3 separate regions of the Homo sapiens genome follow, and all the other regions are linked to region 1. Evidence: promoter capture Hi-C in human tissues and cell types (Jung and others, 2019). All regions are on one chromosome and are shown on one strand. Each heading gives the region's core, a stretch centred on a gene start or on the middle of the fragment in contact. The rest is flanking DNA. Distances are from core to core; before and after follow the strand shown. Region 1 holds the start of NXNL2 (nucleoredoxin like 2). Region 2 overlaps SPIN1 (spindlin 1). Region 3 has its middle 65 kb from the start of SPIN1.

What was found. Contacts are between HindIII fragments. The study calls those that stand out against the background at their distance.
Region 2: a fragment that was not itself captured here is called in contact with the fragment with the promoter of NXNL2 in region 1 in 5 of the 25 tissues and cell types used here (IMR-90 fibroblasts, lymphoblastoid cells, mesendoderm cells and 2 more).
Region 3: a fragment that was not itself captured here is called in contact with the fragment with the promoter of NXNL2 in region 1 in 1 of the 25 tissues and cell types used here (lymphoblastoid cells).

Annotation. Positions count from the first base shown.
Region 1 is chr9:88,532,366-88,536,431 of GRCh38, forward strand. It overlaps NXNL2 (nucleoredoxin like 2), which reads left to right and starts at 2,813. Exons shown (of 2, transcript NM_001161625.2): 1 at 2,813-3,371. The coding sequence starts at 3,070. It overlaps LOC105376134 (a long non-coding RNA gene), which reads right to left and starts at 2,175. Exons shown (of 2, transcript XR_007061653.1): 1 at 1,649-2,175. RefSeq lists enhancers at 2,599-3,433, 3,434-4,066. The HindIII fragment of the contact is 10,556 bases long and covers 1-4,066 here.
Region 2 is chr9:88,397,947-88,402,225 of GRCh38, forward strand. All of the region lies in intron 1 of SPIN1 (spindlin 1), which reads left to right. Among named protein-coding and RNA genes, the nearest start is that of SPIN1, 12 kb to the left of the region's middle. The HindIII fragment of the contact is 9,312 bases long and covers 1-4,279 here.
Region 3 is chr9:88,321,763-88,325,759 of GRCh38, forward strand. It overlaps the pseudogene RPSAP49. Among named protein-coding and RNA genes, the nearest start is that of SPIN1, 65 kb to the right of the region's middle. The HindIII fragment of the contact is 4,785 bases long and covers 1-3,997 here.

The DNA.
Region 1 (4,066 bases), core at 1,563-4,062:
GTGAATCGGGGCTCTTGACAGCCTGCTTCACCTAAGAGCGCCAATCAATCCTCCCGCAGGGTTTCCACTGAGCTTTGGCTGCTAAGTACATTTACGCAACCGAGCCGACGGGCTGTGCCTGCAGGCAACGGCGTCCGCCAATTTCCGTTCATTTAACGGCGAGACTGGGGGAGCCCGGGCCGGCAGGCGGGTCCTCAGGAAGCGCAAATTTCACCTTCCCTGACTCCTCTCACCGCTAGATTAAAACTGCGCCCCTCGGTGGCTCAAGCCTGTAATTCCAGCACTTTGGGAGGCAGAGGTGGGTAGATCACCTGAAGTCAGGAGTTTGAGACCAGCCTGGCTAACATGATGAAACCCCGTCTCTACTAAAAATACAAAAATTAGCTGGGCGTGGTGGCACGCGCCAGTAATCCCAGCTACTCAGGAGGCTGAGGCGGGAGAATTGCTTGAACCCGGGAGGCGGAGGTTGCAGTGAGCCGAGATCACGCCATTGCACTCCAGCCTGGGCAACAAGAGCGAGACTCCATCTCAACCAACCAACCAAACCAAACCAAAATAAAACAAAACAAAAACCTGCGCCCCTCCTCATGGCTCTTCTTTTGGCATAGCACCTGCAAAATATCTTCCTTATTTATTGTTTGTGCCCGTTAGAACATAAGCTCCAGGCAGGCACAGGAGCAGGACTCAGGGGTCGGTGAACGTGACGGGAGTCCAAAGTCAGTGGGGGATCCATCTTGTCTTAGGAGAGCAAAGACCTTCTCTCTGTCCTCCCCAGTTCCATAGCTGGCTCTATGAAATTAACTGCCAACGGGCAGATGAACGGGGGGAACGGGAATACACATTTATTAATCTTTAATATCACCTGCATGGGGGCATTGCAGGAAACTAGGTGAAAACCCCCCAAACCAGTGAGCTTTGAGAGCTTCTAAAATTGGGGAACTGGAAGCTGGTGTAGGCCACTTAGGGGAGAGTAACTGATTTTTAGGAAAGATGCATAAGTCTTTATGAGTTTGTGACAAAGTTTGTCTAGGTGTGGTGTGGACTTCTGCTGTGATAAGAGTCCATCCTCCCGGGAGGGAATTTACGACAATCAGTTTCTTTTGGAGGTTCCGTCTTTAGACAGGTAAGGGGAGAACGTCTCTCTGCATTTGCTATTTTTCAAGTGCCTCTCGCTCAAAATAATCAATATACCAAAGCGGCATATTTTAGGATGGCATATTTTGGTTTCATTCACTGTCTTTAAGTTTTTGATATTTTGTTCATTATAAACTTTTTTTGCATTCATTTTGACTTTTTAAGATATTGTATTAAAACATTATTTACCTTGACTACTGAGTTTTTTTGTCGCGCCCTTAAATTTTGCCCCTATGCGAGTGCCTCGCTCGCTTGCCTCCTTCTAGCCCGGGTCTGGCAGGGAGTTGAAATTATTTTTCTCACTGCTGAATTCCCAGGGCCTACAACAGTGCTCGCCAAAAAATTAATACTCTTGGTTCTTCAAATAAAACATTCTGTAAGGACTGCTCCCAATTTCTTCCTGAACTTCACGAACCCTCCCAGCCAGGCCACAGGATGTCAGGGGCAAACACCCTGAACCAACGGAGCTCAGGTTCCCTACCACCCCGCCCAAGCCCGCTCCAAGCCCAATTACCCTTCCCCTTCCTCGTCGTCCCATCCTCCCTGATGCCTCTTCCAGGGTGCTGGGCCGCGCGGCAAGAGCTCCAAGGCAAGATTCAAATGCCCTGGGGAGACGGCTGCGGGACACCTGCGGCGGGGCCCGGCAGGGAGCGCGAGACTGGAAGAGAGGCCAGGAGGGAAGGAGAGCGACGCGGGGTTTTGGGGGAGGGGCTGCGTGGGGCGCTGAAGGGGAGCGCGAGGAGTGGGAGGAAGTGAAGGAGGAGGAAGAGCACGGTGTGGGGGAAGCGCAGGAGGCAATAGGTGGGGCGGGACGGAGGGCAGGGCGCTGCGTCGGGAGAAAGTGTAGAAGCGCTGGGGAGAGTGCCCACGACGGGAGAGCCCAGGGGCGCGAGGGCGCGGGAGTGTGGGCGGGGCGCAGTGGGGATGGGGGCGGGGGCGCGGGATGTGGTAGGGGGCGTAGTGGGGAGAGAGTGCAGGAGTGTGGGCAGGGCGCAGTGTGGGGAGGGTGCGGGAGTGTGAGCGGGGCGCAGTGGAGGGAGTGCAGGATGTGGGCTGGACAACCAGTGGGAGAGGGCGCGGGAGGTGGGCGGGGCGCAGTCGGGATGGGGGCGGGGGCGCGGGATGTCGGCGGGCCGCAGTGAGGGGGAGGGCGCGGGAGTGTGGGCGGGGCGCAGTGGGGGAGGGAGCGGGAGTGTGCGCGGGGCGCAGTGAGGGGAAACTGTGGAATGTGGGCGAGGCGCAGTTGGAGAAGAGTGCGGGGATGTGGGCGGGGCGCAGTGAGGGGAAACTGTGGAATGTGGGCGAGGCGCAGTTGGAGGAGAGTGCGGGGATGTGGGCGGGGTGCGGTGGGGGAGGGTGCGGAGATGTGGGCGGGGCGCAGTGGGTGGAGAGTGTAGGGATGTGGGCCCAGCGCAGTGGGGGACAGTGTGGGGATGCGGGCGAGGCGCAGTGGGGGCGGGGGCGGGGATGTGGGCGGGGCGCAGTGGGTGGAGAGTGCGGGATGTGGGCGGGGCGCAGTGGGTGGAGAGTGCGGAATGTGGGCGGGGCGCAGTTGGGGAGCTTGCGGGGAATGTGGGCGGGGCGCAGTGGTGGGAGGGCGCAGGAGTGTGGGCGGGGCGCAGTTGGGGGAGGGTGCAGAGACCTGAGGGCTTGAGGTTGCCTGGCTGGCCCCGCTCCCAGAGGCGGGTGCCGCGCTGTCGCCCAGGTATCTGGGGTCTCTGGTGTCTGAGTGTCTCATTGTCGGCGCGAACACAATTGCTCCAGCCACAGGCGAGGCCTGGCCAAGGTGTGGGCGCATCTGGGGCAGGTCTTGAGAGGTCCAGCGCCCGGTGGTGCGGACAGAGGCGGGGCACCGCGGCGCTCGCCGCCGCCTCCCCGCAGGTGATCATCCTCCTGCAGGTGTCCTCGGGTCTCAGGTGGCTGCGTGTCTGCGCCATGGTTGACATTCTGGGCGAGCGGCACCTGGTGACCTGTAAGGGCGCGACGGTGGAGGCCGAGGCGGCGCTGCAGAACAAGGTGGTGGCACTGTACTTCGCGGCGGCCCGGTGCGCGCCGAGCCGCGACTTCACGCCGCTGCTCTGCGACTTCTATACGGCGCTGGTGGCCGAGGCGCGGCGGCCCGCGCCCTTCGAAGTGGTCTTCGTGTCAGCCGACGGCAGCTCCCAGGAGATGCTGGACTTCATGCGCGAGCTGCATGGCGCCTGGCTGGCGCTGCCCTTCCACGACCCCTACCGGCAGTGAGTGGGGGTCCTGGGGGGGCGGGGGCCGCCCGGCACGTCTCCCCCATGTTCCCCCAGGCCTCCCCCTCTGCACTGGGGAGCTCTTTATGACGCCCCCCCCCAACACCTCCCCGTCTCTCGGTTCACGTCCGGACTCCGGTAAATCACACTCAGTCTCAGTTTCAACCTCTCTTGGAGACCAGGGAGGGTGCAGACCAGATTCGAAAACCCAGGGCATCGGCACCCCAAGGGGGCTCGTGGAGCATGGACGCGGGCGCGTTTCTGCCTGGGGTCTGGAGCTCCGGGAATCTGCATTGCGAAGGAGCTCCCAGTGGTGGTGATGCTGTGAGTTCGCGGGCTCGGCTCCGGGAACCGCCGGCCCAATCAGCCCTGGACTCCCGGCGCCGCTGCGTCATCCTCCCAGTTAGTGGGCAGGAAGCACAGGGACATGACCCGGTGTCTGGATGCGGGGATGAGGGATGACCCGCGAGGACATCAGCTCTGTGACAGGCACCCACAGTGCAGGCCGTGGTTGGTTTGCTGGGAGGGAGGGACGGGGGCTTCAAGGCTGGCAGGAACCCAGGTGCTGGCCACCTTTGCGGTTTCATTTTTACCGACACTGATGGAATTTCATCACTAGAGAAGCATAAAACTCATTACTATAAACTTTATTACTCTAACTGTTGCAAAGGAGGGGGTAGGGATTGGCAGAG
Region 2 (4,279 bases), core at 1,188-3,687, 130 kb before region 1:
GTCTCACTCCAGTTGCCTAGGCTGTAGTGCAGTGGCACAGTTTTGGCTCATTGCAGCCTCGACCTTCCCGGACTCAGGTGATCTTCCCATCTCAGCCTCCCGCGTAGCTGAGACTACAGGCATGTGCCACCATGCCTGGCTAGTTTATTTTTGTATTTTTAGTAGAGACGGGATTTTGCCTTGTTGCCCAGGCTGGTCTCGAGCTCCTGAACTCAAGCAGTGTACCTGCCTCAGCCTCCCAAAGTGCTGCCTCAGCCTCCCACCTGTGCCACTGCACTACAGGCATGAGTCACCGTGCCTGGCTGTCTGAAGTTCTTGAATTTTTTTGACTTTTCTGCAGTCAAGTCCTCTTGGTGCTTATCAGAATTACAATGTTATATTAGTTTATGTGATTTAATTAATTTTAGTTTTCCCACAAAGGCTGAGTTTCATGAAAGCAGAACCATTCCTGTTTTTGCCTGTAATTACTTTTCTGGTATCTAGCTCAGTGTCTGAATTGTGAGGGCTCAAGCTACCCTGTGCAGTAGCGAGAATTAAATAATAAGAAAATTGAGGGTGTCTGGTTGGTTAAATGTCTTGTCTGCACAGGTGTTTGTCATACAGTGATTATTAAGTAACAATTTGTTGACTTTTATTTATTTATTTTGAGACAGAGTTTCGCTCTTGTTGCCCAGGCTGGAGTGCAATGGCGCGATGTTGGCTCATCGCAACCTCCGCCTCGTGGGATCAAGCAATTCTCCTGCCTCAGCCTCCTGAGTAGCTGGGATTACAGGCATGCACCACCACACCCAGCTAATTTTGTATTTTCAGTAGAAACGGGTTTCTCCATGTTGGTCAGGCTGGTCTTGAACTCCCCACCTCAGGTCATCCGCCTGCCTTGGCCTCCCTGGGATTACAGGCGTGAGCCACCGTGCCCGGCCTTGTTGACTTTTAATTGTAATATTTTTTTCAGGATCACATAAGGTTTAGAAAAATGAAACCCCTAGGATGGATAAAGGAAAACGTATATGGGATATGTGTGTGTATGTATTAAGGCATTTGTTACAGTGATTTGAGTTCACACAGTGTAGGAGGAGCTGGCTTAAGCAGTTTTTTTTTTTTTTGAGATGGAGTCTTGCTCTATTGCCCAGGCTGGAGTGCAGTGGCACAATCTTGGCTCACTGCAACCTCCGCCTCCTGGGTTCAAGCGATTCTCCTGCCTCAGCCTCCCGAGTAGCTGGGACTACAGGCGTGCGCCACCATGCCTGGCTAGTTTTTTTGTATTTTTAGTGGAGACGGGGTTTCACCATGTTGGCCAGGCTGGTCTTGAACTCCTGACCTCGTGATCCACCCGCCTCGGCCTCCCAAAGTGCTGGGATTACAGGCGTGAGCCACCGTGCCCAGCCGTTAAGCGGTTTCTGTCAGGCTGTTGTCTTTGTGATTGATGCTGGAGTTTGAAGTCCACAGGGCAGTCATTTGAGAAAGGAAGATGGATGTAAAGTGGGGAAGAAGAGGACACAGGAAGCCACAGGCAAGGTACATGGAAACCATGCTAGTTCTAGTTGCCTTTGTTCCTGCTTGTGTGGGTGGCCTGTAAGAGTTGGATCCTTGGCAAATGTAGCCCAGGAGGCAGAGAAGCTTAAGGAGAGCCCAGAGGAAGGTGGAGTGGATGCAGCTGCAATTCTAGGCCAACCACTGCCTCACACGAATGGGGTGAGTCAGAAGATGAGCAGCAACAGTGTGTGCAAGCTGCAGGGTGGTTGCTTTATCTTCTGCACCCTTCAGTTGCTGCACAAAAATCTCTTGTGAGCCATGCAAGTTGGAAACATAAAGGAAAGGAAATTCTGGGGAATGTAGTTCAGCTCAGCCAAGTTCAAACCATACAAAGCAGAATGATCAGCTCAGGCTTTTAAATTTTTAGCTCAGGCTACACGTAAGGGACCCGAAGGTTTCTGTGACTGCTCTAAAAATGCAAATGTAATTCCTAATTTGTGGGTGAGATCATTGATTGGTAGGAATGGAATCCTGAAAATTGGATTGGAGGCATATGGTCAGATTCTGTTTAAGCTGGAGTCCTTAAATCCTTAAATGCTGCTCTGCTGCCTTTCCCGGAGAAGCAGCCTTTCCAACCCTTCCCAGAGGAACTTAATCTCCGTTTGCCTGAAAAACCTGTAATTGGCCTCCCTTTGGGTAGTTGCCCAGCACGGTACTGTCTTCCTCAGAATCTGCCCTGTAATCCTTCTTTCTTGTAGATCTGTGGCTGGACTGTAGTTGCAGCAGGCCCCAGAGAGTGAGGTGACCCATGAGAAAGGTATGCTGCACTCTAAAAGATTGTATAGTTTTGCCACTGTATAGTCAGGAGCCTGGAGGAGTATTTGATTTGTGGCAATGGATCTTAGGGGTATAGTATAACAGTGGAAGGAACATAAAGTTGAATCAGGCAGAATTTATTGATGTGGGCTCACTAAGCAGAGATTCTGGGTTCAGTGTTATAGTTCAAGGAGATAGAAAGGACTCTTAACAGTTGGGTTAATTGACTGAGGCCCATCCACAAGGCCTGATGCCTCGGTTAGATTTTTTCTGGCCTAACAAGGAACTCCACTGACCATTCACTCACCTTCTATGAGAGTCTATATTTGGCCTGGCGTGATGGCTAATACCTGTAATCCCAGCACTTTGGGAGGCCAAGGCAGGAGGATCACCTGAGGTAAGGAGTTTGAGACCAGCCTGGCCAACATGGCGATACCTCATCTCTACTAAAAATACAAAAATTAAGCGGATATCATGGCCCATGCCTTAATCCCAGCTACTCGGCAGGCTGAGGCAGGAGAATCGCTTGAGCCCAGGAGGCAGAGGTTGCAGTGAGCCAAGATCATGCCACTGCACTCTAGCTGGGGTGACAGAGCGAGACTCCGCCTCAAAAAAAAAAAAAAAAAAATTAGCCGGGTGTGGTGGCTTGTGCCTGTAGTTTTAGTTACTCGGGAGGCTGAGGTGGGAGGATCAGTTGAGCTGGGGAAGTCGAGGCTGCGGTGAGCCATGATCGTGCAACTGCGCTCCAGCCTGGGCAACAGAGTGAGATTCTAATAAAATATTAGTTCATAAGGAAAGGTTCACCTAAATGCATAGCCCTTAAATAACTTGCATTGTTGGTGGAACTGTACTTTGCTAGGACCTTTTTGGAGGATGGCTGCACTAAAACAGAATTTAAAATGCATGTGCTCTGTTGATCCAGCAGTTTCACTGCTAGGATTTTATTGTATAGATGAATTTGGACAGTATACAAATACGTTATGTTTAAGGTTTTTCATTATATCAGTGTTTGTGATCGAGAAAAATTAGAAACAACTGTCCAATAATGGAGTTAAGGTAGAGTAAATGACCATTATACCCATACACTGGAATATTGTGCCACTGTTAATAATAAGAGGTTGATAGGAAAAAAAATTCATACAGCCATCCCTCCATATCAGGGAATTGGTTCCAGGACCCACACTCCGCCTGCCTCCCCGCCTGCACCCCACCCCATGGATACCAAAATCCATGGATGCTCAAGTTTCTTATATAAAATGGTGTAGTATTTGCATATAATCTATGCATATCTTTCTGTATACTTTAATCTCTAAATTACTCCTAGTATGTAATACAGTGTAAATGCTATACAAATAGTTATACTGTATTGTTGAGGGAATAACTACAAGGAAAAAACTTTATGTGTTTGGTACAGATGAAACCATCATTTCCCAAATGTTGAAAATCTGAGGTTAGTTGAATCCACAGATGTGGAGCTGAAGGGATAAGAGGCCAAGGGCCAACTATATTACACAAAAAATGTAACATTTAATAAGAGAAGCAAGTTGTGGAACTGTATGTTCTTGCTTATGTTGAGATGTTATGTGTCTGTTTTAAGCCTTTGCCTAAAAATACTTTGCTAAATTCCTAACAATCTTTTCCTTTTATTAATACATAATATTTTACATCTTTATGGGATGCATATGAATACTTGTTGCATGCATAGAATGTATAATGATCAAGTCAGGGTACCTGGAGCATCCATCACCTTGAGTATTTTATCTTTTTGTTTTTGAGATGGAGTCTCGCTCTGTTGCTCAGGCTGGAGTGCGGCGGTGCGATCTTGGCTTGCTGGAACCTCTTGCCTCCTGGGTTCAAGCAATTCTCCCGCCTCAGCCTCCTGAGTAAGCTGGGATTACAGGTGTGTGCCACCATGCTGGGCTAATTTTTGTAATTTTAGTAGAGACAGGGTTTCACCATGTTGGCCATTCTGGTCTGGGTCCCCTGACCT
Region 3 (3,997 bases), core at 606-3,105, 210 kb before region 1:
GGTTTCAGCCTGTGTGCCCAAGGCTCTGACTACTGAGTAAATGGGATGTACTAAGGAGAATTGCCTCTGTGGGAACTTCATGTAGTTCATGGCTTTTATAACTGAAATAGCATCAATAAAAGTCCAGCCTTGTGGAAAGACACCAACTTGCATGGATCTGGTTATGTCTGACCTTGTGCTACTCATGACAGATGTGGACAGGATCACATGCTGTAGGGCCTCAGCCACACAGGCTGGTTTCTAAAACAGGCAGCGATTTAGAACACTGAATCTCTGAGGTCGCAGATTCAAATTTTTTTTTTTTTTTTTGAGACGGATTTTCACTCTTGTTGCTCAGGCTGGAGTGCAATGGTGCAGTCTTGGCTCACCACAACCTCCGCCTCCTGGGTTCAAGCAATTCTTCTGCCTCAGCCTCCCGAGTAGCTGGTATTACAGGCATGTGCCACCACGCCCGGCTAATTTTGTTTTTTTTCATTTGTTTGTTTTTGTTTTTGTTTTTTTTTGAGACAGAGTCTCACTCTGTCACCCAGGCTGGAGTTGCAGTGGTGCGATCTCAGCTCACTGCAAGCTCTGCCTCCCGGGTTCATACCATTCTCCTGCCTCGGCCTCCTGAGTAGCTGGGACTACAGGCACCGGCCACCACACCCGGCTAATTTTTTTTTTTTTTTGTATTTTTAGTAGAGACGGGGTTTCACCGTGTTAGCCAGGATGGTCTCGATCTCCTGACCTCGTGATCCACCCGCCTTGGCCCCCGCAAAGTGCTGGGATTACAGGCGTGAGCCAATTTTTGTATTTTTAGTAGAGACGGGATTTCTCCATGTTGGTCAGGCTGGTCTCAAACTCCTGACCTCAGGTGATCGGTCTGCCTCGGCCTCCCAAAGTGCTGGGATTACAGGCGTGAGCCACTGTGCCAGGCCCACAGATTCAATTTTACAGAGTTGGAGGAAAGGCATTTACAGATTCTGCATAGGGCCAGAATGTGTCTTAGCAACTAAATCATGGATGTACGTGTTTGCAGTTGGATCAAATGCCCCAAACAATTCAATATGTTAAATGTTTACATCAGAACACTTGTATCAGAATCTTTCTGTTTCTGCACTTAGCTCTGTAGTTTCTTTGGACCTTTGTGCCTGGTTTGTCATAGGCTAGGAGCCTCCCATAGGTTCCAGCAACAGCACACAAGTGAAGGAATGGGACAGGTGTAAAAAAAACCCACAAATAGAATGAGGACAATGCTGATGATGACATCTGCAGAGGGAAGACGACAGACCATTTCCGCAACACTGAACCCAGAGTGAAGAACGTTGCTGGAGGAAATAGCAGAGGAAACCACAACTCAGAGGAAGCCACAGCTAGACAAGCAGCTACTGGTGGGATGGGATGATGGAGGGTGGAGCCATGGAAGAAACTACTGTGCTCTGTAGAGTCTGGGATGGGGCCAGGGCTCCACAGTTAGAGGCAGGAGAGTCCAGTAGGGCTGAAAATCAATCAGGATTGAAGACCTGTGTGTAGAACAGTCAACACCCCCATCCCCACCCCACCCCATGCACAGAACTGTGAGGACATCCAGCCAGGTAATGACTCCAGGCAAAGAATCATGTGCACAGTCTGGAGGGACTTGAGCAGCTGGTGTGCATGACCAGAGTAAAGGCCTCCCCACAAAGGGTGATCTAAAGGCAGCAGTCCCTGTTCATGTCCCAGAGTTTCTGTCAGCTTTTATAGTCCCTCATTCTCAAATATAAAAGCTTAACAGAGGCTCGCTGCAGAATTAGAGAAAACCTGTGGTATGAAAGAAAGCAATGAGGATTCCAAAAGAGAGAGAAAGACAAAGATAGAAGTTTAACCTCAAAGAACACAGAGAGAATTCAGAGAACATAAGAACATAAAACAGGCCTGGCACGGTGGCTCAGGCCTGTCATCCCAGTACTTTGGGAGGACGAGGCGGGCAGATCACGAGTTCAGGAGATTGAGACCAGCCTGGCCAACGTGGTGAAATCCTGTCTTTACTAAAAATACAAAAATTAGCTGGGCATGGTGGCAGACGCCTGTAATCCCAGCTACTCAGGAGGCTGAGGCAGGAGAATCGCTTGAACCCATGAGGTGGAGGTTGCACTGAGACGCCGTCTCACAAAGAAAAAAGAACATAAAACAAAGAACATGAAAGAACAGAACTTCTTTGATCAGCATCCCCAGAGAGATTTTAGAAAATATTCCATCCATAAAACAATAAAACAAGAACATGACACAGTGAAAAATAAGCCCTGTGAGAAGAACCACAGTAAAAGCCTCTGGAAATTAAAATTATGGTTCACAAAATGTAAAATAATAAATATGGGTGGACAATAATGTTTAGGAGGTCACAGAGAATAAAGAGAACAGGAAACAGAAAATAGGCCAGAAACAATAAGAGATATAGATGATTAATACAGAGGTACAACACCTACCCAGTAGGAATTCCAGAAAGAGGAAAAGAAGGAAAGAAGAGGCTGGGCGTGGTGGCTCACGCCTGTAATCCCAACACTTTGGGAGGCGGAGGACGGCAGATCACGAGGTCAGGAGTTCACAACCAGCCTGGCCAACATGGTGAAACCCCGTCTCTACTGAAAATACAAAAATTATTTCTGCGCTACCCACAGAGGGGTCCATACGGCGTTCTGGATTCCCATCGTAACTTCAAGGAAAACTTTCACAATGTGCGGAGCCCTTGATGTCCTGCAAATGAAGAAGAAGGATGTCCTTAAGTTCCTTGCAGCAGGAACCCACTTAGGTGGCACCAATCTTGACTTCCAGATGAAACAGTACATCTATAAAAGGAAAAGTTATGGCACCTACATCACAAATCTGAAGAGGACCTGGGAGAAGCTTCTGCTGGCAGCTCATGCCATTGTTGCCATTGAATACCCTGCTGATGTCAGTGTCATATTCTCCAGGAATACTGGCCAGAGGGCCGTGCTGAAGTTTGCTGCTGCCACTGGAGCCACTCCAATTGCTGGCCGCTTCACTCCTGCAACCTTCACTAACCAGATCCAGGCAACCTTCCGGGAGCCACGGCTTCTTGTGGTTACCGACCCCAGGGCTGACCACCAGCCTCTCACGGAGGCATCTTATGTTAACCTACCTACCATCGCTCTGTGTAACACAGATTCTCCTCTGCACTGTGTGGACATTGCCATCCCATGCAACAACAAGGGAGCTCCCTCAGTGGGTCAGATATGGTGGATGCCAGCTCGGGAAGTTCTGCACATGCGTGGCACCATTTCCTGTGAACACCCGTGGGAGGTCATGCCTGATCTCTACTTCTACAGAGATCCTGAAGAGATTGAAAAAGAAGAGCAGGCTGCTGCTGAAAAGGCTGTGACCAAGGAGGAATTTCAGGGTGAGTGGACTGCTCTAGCTCCTGAGTTCACTGCTACTCAGCCTGAGATTGCAGACTGGTTTGAAGGTATGCAGGTGCCCTCTGTGCCTATTCACAGTTCCCTACTAAAGACTGGAGTGCTCAGCCTGCCACGGAAGTCTAGTCTGCAGCTCCCACTGCTCAGGCCACTGAGTGGGTAGCAGCAACCACTGATTGGTCTTAAGCACTTCTTGCACAGGCCCTTAAGCAACATGGAAATAAAGTTGATGGAAAATAAACATCAGTTTCCAAAAAAAAAAAAAAAAAAGTAAAGAAGAGAGACAGAAAGAAAGAAACAGAACATAAAATGAAGGATAGAAAATTATAAAATAAATAGTCCCGGCTCAGTGGCTCAAGCCTGTAATCCCAGCACTTTGGGAGGCTGAGGCAGGCAGATCACCTGAGGTCGGGAGTTCGAGACCGGACTGGCCAACATGGTGAAACCCCCGTCTCTATTAAAAATACAAAAACTAGCCAAGCCTAGTGGTGCACACCTGTAATCCCAGCTTCTCAGGAGGCTGAGGCAGGAGAATCGCTTGAACCTGGGAGGTGGAGATTGCAGTGAACCGAATTCGTGCCACAGCACTCCAGACTGGATGATAA